Linked DNA regions of Homo sapiens: region 2 is linked to region 1. The links are contacts of gene promoters, found by promoter capture Hi-C in blood cells and fetal thymus (Javierre and others, 2016). All regions are on one chromosome and are shown on one strand. Each heading gives the region's core, a stretch centred on a gene start or on the middle of the fragment in contact. The rest is flanking DNA. Distances are from core to core; before and after follow the strand shown. Region 1 holds the start of MR1 (major histocompatibility complex, class I-related). Region 2 has its middle 6.8 kb from the start of ACBD6.

The links. Contacts are between HindIII fragments. The CHiCAGO score rates a contact against its expected background, and 5 or more counts as called.
Region 2: a fragment that was not itself captured here is called in contact with the fragment with the promoter of MR1 in region 1 in 14 of 17 cell types (total CD8 T cells, naive CD8 T cells, naive CD4 T cells and 11 more); the score reaches 12.9 in total CD8 T cells.

The regions. Positions count from the first base shown.
Region 1 is chr1:181,031,035-181,035,943 of GRCh38, forward strand. It overlaps MR1 (major histocompatibility complex, class I-related), which reads left to right and starts at 2,949. Exons shown (of 6, transcript NM_001385161.1): 1 at 2,949-3,040. The coding sequence starts at 2,974. RefSeq lists enhancers at 2,129-2,318, 2,519-2,618, 2,749-2,858. The HindIII fragment of the contact is 2,248 bases long and covers 2,287-4,534 here.
Region 2 is chr1:180,506,860-180,511,857 of GRCh38, forward strand. No RefSeq gene overlaps it. Among named protein-coding and RNA genes, the nearest start is that of ACBD6, 6.8 kb to the left of the region's middle. The HindIII fragment of the contact is 760 bases long and covers 3,289-4,048 here.

The DNA of each region.
Region 1 (4,909 bases), core at 1,699-4,198:
AAAATACTATTAGGACGTAAAACCCTTTTTTGGTAAAATGAACAAATAAAGGTATGCTTATATGCAGACATATGTAGTCAGCAAAACCACTGAAAAGAAATACACTAAAATATGTTAACAGCAAATTTTTTCCTTTCTTCCTCCCTCCTTCTCTCTCTCCTTCCTTCCTTCCTTCCCTTCTTTCTTTCTGTTGCCATGGTTGTAGTACAGTGGCGTCTCAGCTCACTGCAGCCTTGACCTCCCTGGCTCAAGCAATCCTCCCACCTCAGCCACCTAAGTAGCTGAGACTACAGGCGCATGCACCACACCTGGCTAATTTTTTGTATTTTTAGTACAGATAGGGGTTTCACCATGTTGCCCAGGCTGGTCTTGAACTCCTGGGCTCAAGCAATTTGCCCACGTCAGCCTCCCAAAGTTGGGATTACAGGTGTGAGCCACCATGCCCGGCCAACAGCAATTTTTTCTGATGGGTGATTTTTATCTTATCACTCTCTGGGTTTTTTATATGTATTTGCCCTGTACTCTGGATTAAATTTACTAATTTGCAATTAGAATACAATGACTTAAAAAATGAAAGACATCGGTCAGGTGTGGTGGCTCACGCCTGTAATCCCAGCACTTTGGGAGGCCAAGGTGGGTGGATCCTGAGGTCAGGAGTTCAAGACCAGCCTGGCCAACATGGGAAAACCCCATCTCTACTAAAAAGACAAAAATTAGCTGGGTGTGTAATCCCAGCTACTCAGGAGGCTGAGTCAGGAGAATTGCTTGAACCTGGGAGGCGGAGGTTGCAGTGAGCCGAGATGGCACCACTGCACTTCAGCCTAGGCGACAGAGTGAGACTCTGTCTCAAAAAAAAGAAAGACATCGTTGACATACCTACATTTTTTTTTTTTTTTGAGATGGAGCCTTGCTCTGTCACCCAGGCTGGAGTGCAGTGGCACAATCTCAGCTCACTGCAACCTCTACCTCCTGGGTTCACACCATTCTCCTGCCTCAGCCTCCCGAGTAGCTGGGACTACAGGCACTCACCACCACGCCTGGCTAATTTTTTGTATTTTTAGTAGAGACAGGGTTTCACCATGTTCCAGGATGGTCTCGATCTCCTGACCTCGTGATCTGCCCGCCTCGGCCTCCCAAAGTGCTGGGATTACAGGCGTGAGCCACCGCGCCCGGCCTCATACCTACTTTTTAATGTCAGTACAGCAGGTTATGGTATGGAATGCATTTTGGAACAAGATATTAACAAAAATTCAAAGGAAAAAATACATGGCCATGGAATTCCAGTGCTGAGAGACATTTGGGAATATTGGGGGAGTTTTCCAAAAGAGAAATCCAGGTGACTGTATTTGTTAAATGAGTAACAAAAGGAAAAACAATGTAAAGAAACAGAAAGGAAAGGAAGAGAGAAATACAAAGATCTGAGAAGAGAAGGTGCCAGGGGCCGCTGAGAGATTGCCAAATGTTAATTTCATTATTTGGCTTCTTATTTTATTCTGGGTAAAGGTAGACCTATTAGTTTCCTGTTGCTGCTATAACAAATTACCACCAACTTAGTGGCCTCGAACAATGCAAATTTATTCTTTCAAAGTTCTGGAGGACAGAAGTCCAAAAATGTGTCCTATCAGCTGAAATCAAAGTGTTGTGTTCCTTCTGGAGGCTCTAAGGAGAATCTGTTCCTTCTCTTTTCTAGTTCTAGAGGCCATCTGCGTTCCTTGGCTCATGTCCTTCTTTCAGCAATGGCATCATCACTCTGACCTTTGCTTCCATTGTCACATCTCCTTGACTCTGACCCTTTTGCCTCCCTCTAATAAGGCCCCTCTGATTACACTGGGTCCACCAGATAATCCAGGATAGCTCTCTGTCTCAAGATCCTTAATTTAATCATATCTGCCAAGGGTTTTGTTTTGTTTTATTTTGTTTTTGCCATTTAAGGTAATATATCCACAGGTTCTGGCAATTAGGTTGTGGACATCTTTGGGGCGACAATTCTCAACCTACCATACAACCGGTACATAAGGTTCTACTACCTACTAAATGCATCATAAACAGAACTTCTGATCCTTCAACAACTCTGTGAAATATATGACAGGATTTGCTTTTAAAGTTGAAGAAATCAGGCCTTGGTGCAATTTGGGATTCTGCCCATGGTCAAATAGTGGGGAGGCAAACCCAGGTCCCTGAACCCAGCTCAAGCCTGCCTGCCTCATGGCCATGCCTCCATTCACCTCTCCCCTTCATGTCTACTTCCTCTTTCCTGTCTGGGCCTGTTCCCTAGCTCCCTGGACAAGCTTAAGCTGCTGTTTTCCAGCTTGTCATGTGCTCCTTATGACAGTGTAGCCACAGCTTGATCTTGGGGATTGCTGATTGAGCAAGCTGAGTGGCTGCCCCTCAGAATCTTCTGTAGGCCTTTCTCTTGCCTTCTTTTATTCAGTAAGTGTTTTGAGCTTATTGTGCTGGGTGCTAGAGTAGCAGGGAGGACAGACCTAAGTTGAAGATTACGGGACAATCTAAGTGACACCTGCTATCTCAGACAGAGACTTCAGCATCATAGGGAGCCAGAGCAGGGAGTTCCAAGCCGTGGGAACTGTGACTCTTTCTTACTGACCCTTAAGCAAAATTCTAAGCTCCAGGGAAGCAGAGGCAGCAGCTTGAGCTCCCTGATTGACCAGATATGATTAATCTTTGTTTCTCTGTGCTTTGAACATGACTATGCTCCATAAATATTTAAAAATTGGGAATAGGGTGAAGATAGATACACCAAAAGGAGCAAGCAGTGTCTGAAACCAGCAAAGACTTAAAAGTTACCGAAGAAGGTGTTCATGCTTTCATTTTATCTTTTTTTTTTAACCTAGCAACTGATGACACTGCATATCTTCCCCTGTTCTTATTGGGAGAAGGCCTTGTGTGTCACCAAGAGGTTCTCAGAAGGGACCTGTCAGTTTTTGGTTAAAAGAACCCGGAAAGAGAAGGACTATGGGGGAACTGATGGCGTTCCTGTTACCTCTCATCATTGTGTTAATGGTGAAGCACAGCGATTCCCGTGAGTATCCCACGTCCTCTTCTCTCCTAACTCCAAAGTCGAGGCAGCCTAGAAGGCACAGCTTTTCTTCCTAAAACTTGTGGTGAAAAATATAGAAGCCAGGGGCAGAAACGTGTATGTATTACACTCAGACTCCAGGAGCAATGGATTGCCTGAACAGTTTCCCAGTTCATATTTGTAGGATTTTGATGTCACCACCTTCTGAGGGAGGGGGAGCCGTTCTAGAAAGACTCTGGAACTTCCTCACTTTCCCTCTGAGCATGGCCTCCTTTCTTTTCTGCTCATATTTTTTCTTTTACTTTTGTTTCTCCTCTTTTCTAACTTCCAGAGTCTCATGAGGATGTAGTCAGAGTTTCAGGGGCATTAACAGTGGAGTAGATCCATTGTTCAGGTTTATTTATGTTTTTCCTCAACACAAGCCCTACCTGTAATAAAAGATCCAAGAAAGATAAAACCATGGCTCTGGGTTTGTTTACTGACTGTGAGAAGTATTAATCAAGTAGAAGGGAGAGTTTTTCATTATTCGGGGAGCTCAAGTCACTGGGGAAGCAAATGCCTTCTGTTGCCTCAAATAGGGGAAAGGGCCCATGGGCTAGAACCACCAGGCTTCTCTGCCCTAATCACTTGCTCCCTGGGCTGAGGACTGGTACTGGTGGGCAGTGTCCAGAACTTAGACTTGGCCACCACCATAGGTGTGACTGATGAACATGAGAGGAAGGAGTTCTTTCAAATCACCCATGCACATAGAGAGTGGAATGACTGACCATGGAGATTTGGAAGGGCGAGGGGGGTGGATGATTAGAAATTACTTAATGGGTACAATGTGTGTTACTTGGGTGATGGATACCTTAAAGCCCCAACTTGACCACTACACAATCTATGCTATAACAAAATTGCATGTGTACATCATAAATTTATACAAATAAAAAAATTTTAAATCATATGGCTGGGAGTGGTGGCTCACACCTGTAATCCTAGCACGTTGAGAGGCCGAGGCAGACGGATCGCTTGAGGTCAGGAGTTTGAAACCAGCTTGGCCATCATAGTGAAACCCCATCTCACTAAAAATACAAAAAATTAGCTCGGCACACCCATCTCTACTAAAAATACAAAAAATTAGCTGTGCACAGTGCGCACCTGTGATCCCAGCTACTCGGGAGACTGAGGCAGGAGAATCACTTGAACCCAGGAGGCGGAGGTTGCAGTGAGCCGAGATCATGCCACTGCACTCTAGCCTGGGTGACAGAGTGAGACTCCATCTCAAAAAAAAAAAATCCATATATTAATTGTTCAAATATTGATTGATGGCCTACTATGTGCCAGGCACTTTGGGGGATATGGCAGCGAACAAGACAAACATAGTCTCTGCTTCCATGAAAATTTAATCCAGAAAGTGTCATCATTTATGGGAAAGATTGGGGGTGAGGGTAAGAGGCAGAAGATGAAAGAGGAAAGGAGGAGAGAGGCAAAGGGTGATATTTTTGGAAATAATAAAGCTTATATATTACCTGCATGTGATTCTCAAAGAACTCTCCAATAATATGGAATAATATTCCTTAAACATATTATCTCCTATGACAATCTCACTGACTATTTGTAGTAGGTGAAGAAAATATCCCCATTTAAAGATGAGGCCTAGATTTTTCTCTAGGCCTAGAGAGTGACCACGCTCACATAAGGAGCAACCTGAAGGAGACTGCAGATCTTCTGGCCCTCGGTCCAGGGCTGTTCCACAATGTCATTGCTCCTTTGGGTGTGAAGACTTGTCACTTTGATAATTGGGGGGACAGGAAATAAAACAAGTAAGTTATAAAGGCAAGGGAAGGTCACTTGGTGCTGGCTGTTCTCCTTCTGACTCCTTAGAGTGCA
Region 2 (4,998 bases), core at 2,419-4,918, 520 kb before region 1:
TCTCCTGCCTCAGCCTCCCGAGTAGCTGGGATTACAGGTGCCCGCCACCATGCACAGCTAATTTTTGTATTTTTAGTAGAGATGGGGTTTCACCATGTTGGTCAGGCTGGTCTTGAACTCCTGACCTCAGGTGATCCACCTGCCTCGTGCTGGATTATAGGTGTGAGCCACTGCTCCCGGCCCACAAATGTATTATAAAAAGTTAAAATTTATCAAAACATACACACATAAACACAGACCGTGGCACCATTAACAGTTGAGAGAAATTGAAACAAACATAACGATGCAGCATTAAATCATAACTGCATATAACTCATACATACTGTAGTGCTGTACTAATTTCATGGCACCTCTCATTGCTATTGCAGTGAGCCCAAGTGTTTTGAATGTATCCACTTAAAACACTTCGTGATGTTAATCATCTCCACAAGAGCAGTTGTCTCTCCAGTAAATTGTGTATCATAGTAAAAAGTGATCACTCATGGTTCCTGTATTTTTCATCGTGTTTAGTGCACTGCCGTCAACCTTGAATAACACCGTGGTACCTATACAAAGTGCCACTAGCGATGCTGTAAATGCTCCCAAGAAGCAGAGAATAGTCATTACAAGGAAAAGTTTAATTGCTTAATAAGTACTGTAGATTGAGGTCTGCAGCTGTGGTTGCTGCCATTTCAGGCAGGGATTCATCTTGTAAGCAAAAGAAATAAACTTACAGTATTGGTAAATAAGTACAATAATAATAATTACTATAAATGTATTTTCCTTATGGTTTTCTTAATGACATTTTCTTTTCTCTAGCTTACTTTATTTCAAGAAGACAGTACATAATACATATACAAAATATGTGTTACTCAACTGTTTGTGTTCTTGGCATGGCTTGCAGTCAACAGTAGTTGACTGCTTAGGGGTCGATCCCCTTATTGCTGAGTTGTTCAAAGCTTAACTGTTTATGTTTCTTTGAATCCCAAGAAAAATCAGCCAAGAAATCAGGAAGTCAAAAGAAAGTATTACAGTTCTGCAGGAATTGAAGTTTAGCAGTCAACATACACTGATTCAAACAAACCCGCTAACAAGTGAAAAGCAATGGCAGGAAACACTGACAAATGGAGTCTAAAGTGAGCAGAAAAAGGAGCAGGCAGGAAAGAAGTAGTGAAGATCTAATCAGTCTGGCTCATGATGGTGGCCATGTTGCATATGGTGTTCACAGCCCCATCTTCTGGTAACAATGAGTCATTCTTGCAAGTAAAATAAATATTGATGACATGATATGCATAATAAATAAAATTCTATGAGTCATGTTCTAAGAAATTAGAAGCAAAATAAGTCCTCAAACTGGCAATTTGTTTAAGTGATGCTGAGTAGTTCTATTAACCTTGCTAGAAGGTCTGAATGTTATGTTATTAGAATACTACCCAACAATGTTGTGGCATTTTCCAGTGTTTATATTCATTATAAACTACAGTTCTAAGTATTTCAAGAAGAAATGCAAAGAGAAAAATATGTGATTGTTGTAAAATGCTTCCCAACATAACATCTGAACTGATCTAAACATCTGAATTAACAAAAGTCATAATGAGAGGTGACGACCTACTGGCAGCCCTCACAGAGGGCTGGCTGTCAGCACCTCCTCGGCCTCGGCAGTGCTTGAGGAGCCCTTCAGCCTGCCGCTGCACTGTGGGAGCCCCTCTCTGGGCTGGCCAAGGCTAGAGCCGGCTCCCTCTGCTTGCAGGGAGGTGTGGAGGGAGAGGAGCAGGCTGGAACCGGGGCTGCGCGTGGCGGTCGCAGGCCAGCGTGAGTTCCAGGAGGGCATGGGATCTGTGGGCCCTGCACTTGGAGCGGCAGACCGGAAACACTGGCCCCGGGCAGTGAGCGGCTTAGCACCTGGGCCAGCAGCTGCAGAGGGTGGGCCGGGTCCCCCAGCAGTACCGGCCCACCGGCACTGCACTCGGATCCTCACAGGGCCGCAGCTGCTTCCCTGCAGGACAGGGCTCAGGACCTGCAGCCCACCATGCCCGAGCCTTCCCCCACCCCGCCATGGGCTCCTGCGCAGCCCTAGCCTCCCCAACGAGTGCCGCCCCCTGCTCCGCAGCACCCGGTCCCATCTACCGCCCAAGGGCTGAGGAGCCCGCAGGCACGCAGCGCTGGACTGGTTGAACAGCTCCGCCCGCTGCCCTGGCACGGGATCCACCAGGCGAAGCTGGCTGACCTCCTGAGTTGGTGGGGGGAGGTGGGACTTGGAGAACTTTTATGTCTAGCTGGAGGATTGTAAATGCACCAATCAGCACCCTGTGTCTAGCTCAAGGTTTGTGAATGCACCAATCAGCAGTCTGTATCTAGCTCAGGCTTTGTAAATGCATCAATCAGTGCTCTGTGTCTGGCTAATCTAGTGGGGGACTTGGAGAACTTTTGTGTCTAGCTCAGGGATTGTAAATGCACCAATCTGCACCCTGTCAAAACGGACCAATCAGCTCTCTGTAAAATGGACCAATCTCAGCAGGATGTGGGTGGGGCCAGATAAGAGAATAAAAGCAGGCTGCCAAGAGCCAGCTGCGGCAAGTCGCTCAGGTCTCCAGCTTAGTTGTTTTGCTCTCTGCAGTAACTCTTGCTGGTGCTAACTGTTTGGGTCCGCACTGTCTTTGTGAGCTGTGACACTCATGGCGAAGGTCTGCAGCTTCACTCTTGAGGCCAGCAAGACCACGAACCCACTGGGAGGAATGAACAACTCCAGACGCACCGCCTTGAGAGCTGTAACACTCACCGCCAAGGTCTGCAGCTTCACTCCTGAAGCCAGGGAGATCACGAACCCACCAGAAGGAAGAAACTCCAAACACGTCCGAACATCAGAAGGAACAAACTCCCGACACACCATCTTTAAGAACTGTAACACTCACCGTGAGGGTCCACGTTTTCATTCTTGAAGTCAGTGAGTTCAAGAACCCACCAATTGCAGACACAATAACTGTTTCAGTAGCATAACTGAAGTCAGGGCAACCAGACAAAATATTTTCCTCGTTACAAAAGTAACTGCACTGGGTTTAGTACAATTTAGGTTTTTGTGAAATATTGACATTTAAAAAATTTTTGTATCAATACCTTTTGAGGTATAAATTTTTTTTGTTATATGGATGAATAATGTAGTGGTGACTTCTGAGACTTTAGTGCACCTGTCACCCAAGTAGTGTACATTGTACTTAATATGTGGTTATTTATCTCTAACCCCATTCCCACCCTCCCCCTGCTGAGTCTCTAAACTCCATTATACCACTCTGTATGTCTTCATGTACTCAAAGCTTAGCTCCCGCTTACAAGCGAGAACATACAGGTTTTGGTTTCCCACTCCTGAGTTACTTCATTTAGAATAATGGCTTCCAGCTCCATACAAGTTGCTGCCAAAGACATTGTTTTATTCCTTTTCATGGCTGAGTGGTATTCCGTGGTGTCTATATACCACATTTTCTTTAGTCATTGGTTGATGGGCACTTAGGTTGGTTCCACATCTTTTGCATTTGTGCTACTATAAATGTGTGTGCAAGTGTTTTTTTTATATAAATGACTTCTTTTCCTTTGGGTACATACAGTCAGTAGTGGGCTTGCTGGATCAAATGGTCGACCTACTTTTAGTTCTTTAAGGAATCTCCATACCATTTTCTATAGAGGTTGTATTAATTTGCATTCCCACCAGCAGTGAATAAGCATTCCCTTTTCCCCACATCCATGCCAGCATCTATTGTGTTTTGACTTTTTAATAATGGCCGTTCTTACAGGAGTAAGGCAGTAACTCATTGTGGTTTTAATTTGCATTTCCCTGATGATTAGTAATGTTGAGCATTTTTCATATGTTTGTTGGCCATTTGTATATCTTCTTTTGGAAATGTCCGTGCATGTCCTTTGCCCACTTTTGGATGGGATTTTTTTTTTTCTTGCTGATTTGTTTGGGTTCCATGTAGATTCTTGACACTAGTCCTATGTGGGATGCATAGTTTACAAATATTTTCTCCCACTCTGGGTTGTCTGTTTACTCTGATTATTATTTCTTTTGCTATGAAGAAGCTTTTTAGTTTAATTAGGTCCCATTTATTTATTTTTGTTTTTGTTGCATTTGCTTTTGGGGTCTTAGTCATGAATACTTTGCCAAGGCTGATGACTAGAAGAGTTTTTACAATGTTGTCTTCTAGAATTTTTATGGTTTCAGGTCTTATATTTAAGTATTTGATTCATCTTGAGTTGATATTTGTATAAGATGAGATAGGGATCCAATTTCATTCTTCTACATGTGGCTTGCCAGTTTCCCCAGCATCGTTTATTAAATAGGATGTCCATTTCCCGATTGATGTTTTTGTATGCTTTGTCAAAGATCAGTTGGCTGCATGTATTTGGGTTTATTTCTGGGTTCTCTGTTCTGTTTTATTGGTCTGTGTGCCTACTTTTATACCAGTACCATGCTGTTTTGGTAACTGCAGTTTTATAGCATAATTTGAAGCTCGATAATGTGATGCCTCCAGATTTGTTTTTTTTGATTAGGATTGCTTTGGCTATTGGGGCTCTTTTTTTCGTTCCATATGAATTTTAGAATTGTTTTTTCTAATTCTGTGAAAAATGATGTTAATGTTTGGCAACTTTTTTTACATTAGCACCAAAATACTGATTGATCCATTAAAAATACATTAATTCCTGATATGATTCAGACACAGTGCTAACTCCTAAGAATACTACAATGAACAAAATTTTCTTTCCCTCACTCTACTCCAGCCACATGAACCTCCCTGTAGCTCTTCTACAAGTCAAGCATGATCCAACATATTACCATTTTAGTATCCTTGGACTTGTTATTCCCTCGTTCTGGAACACTTTGCCCCAAAATATCCACAATTTGCCCTCATCTCTTTCAGGTCTTTGCTCAAATGTCACATTAATAAAAGCTTCCTTGACAACCATATTAAAAACTTGCGACCCGACTCCCAGCAACACTCTCTATTCTACTTCTTTAGCACTTGTTGC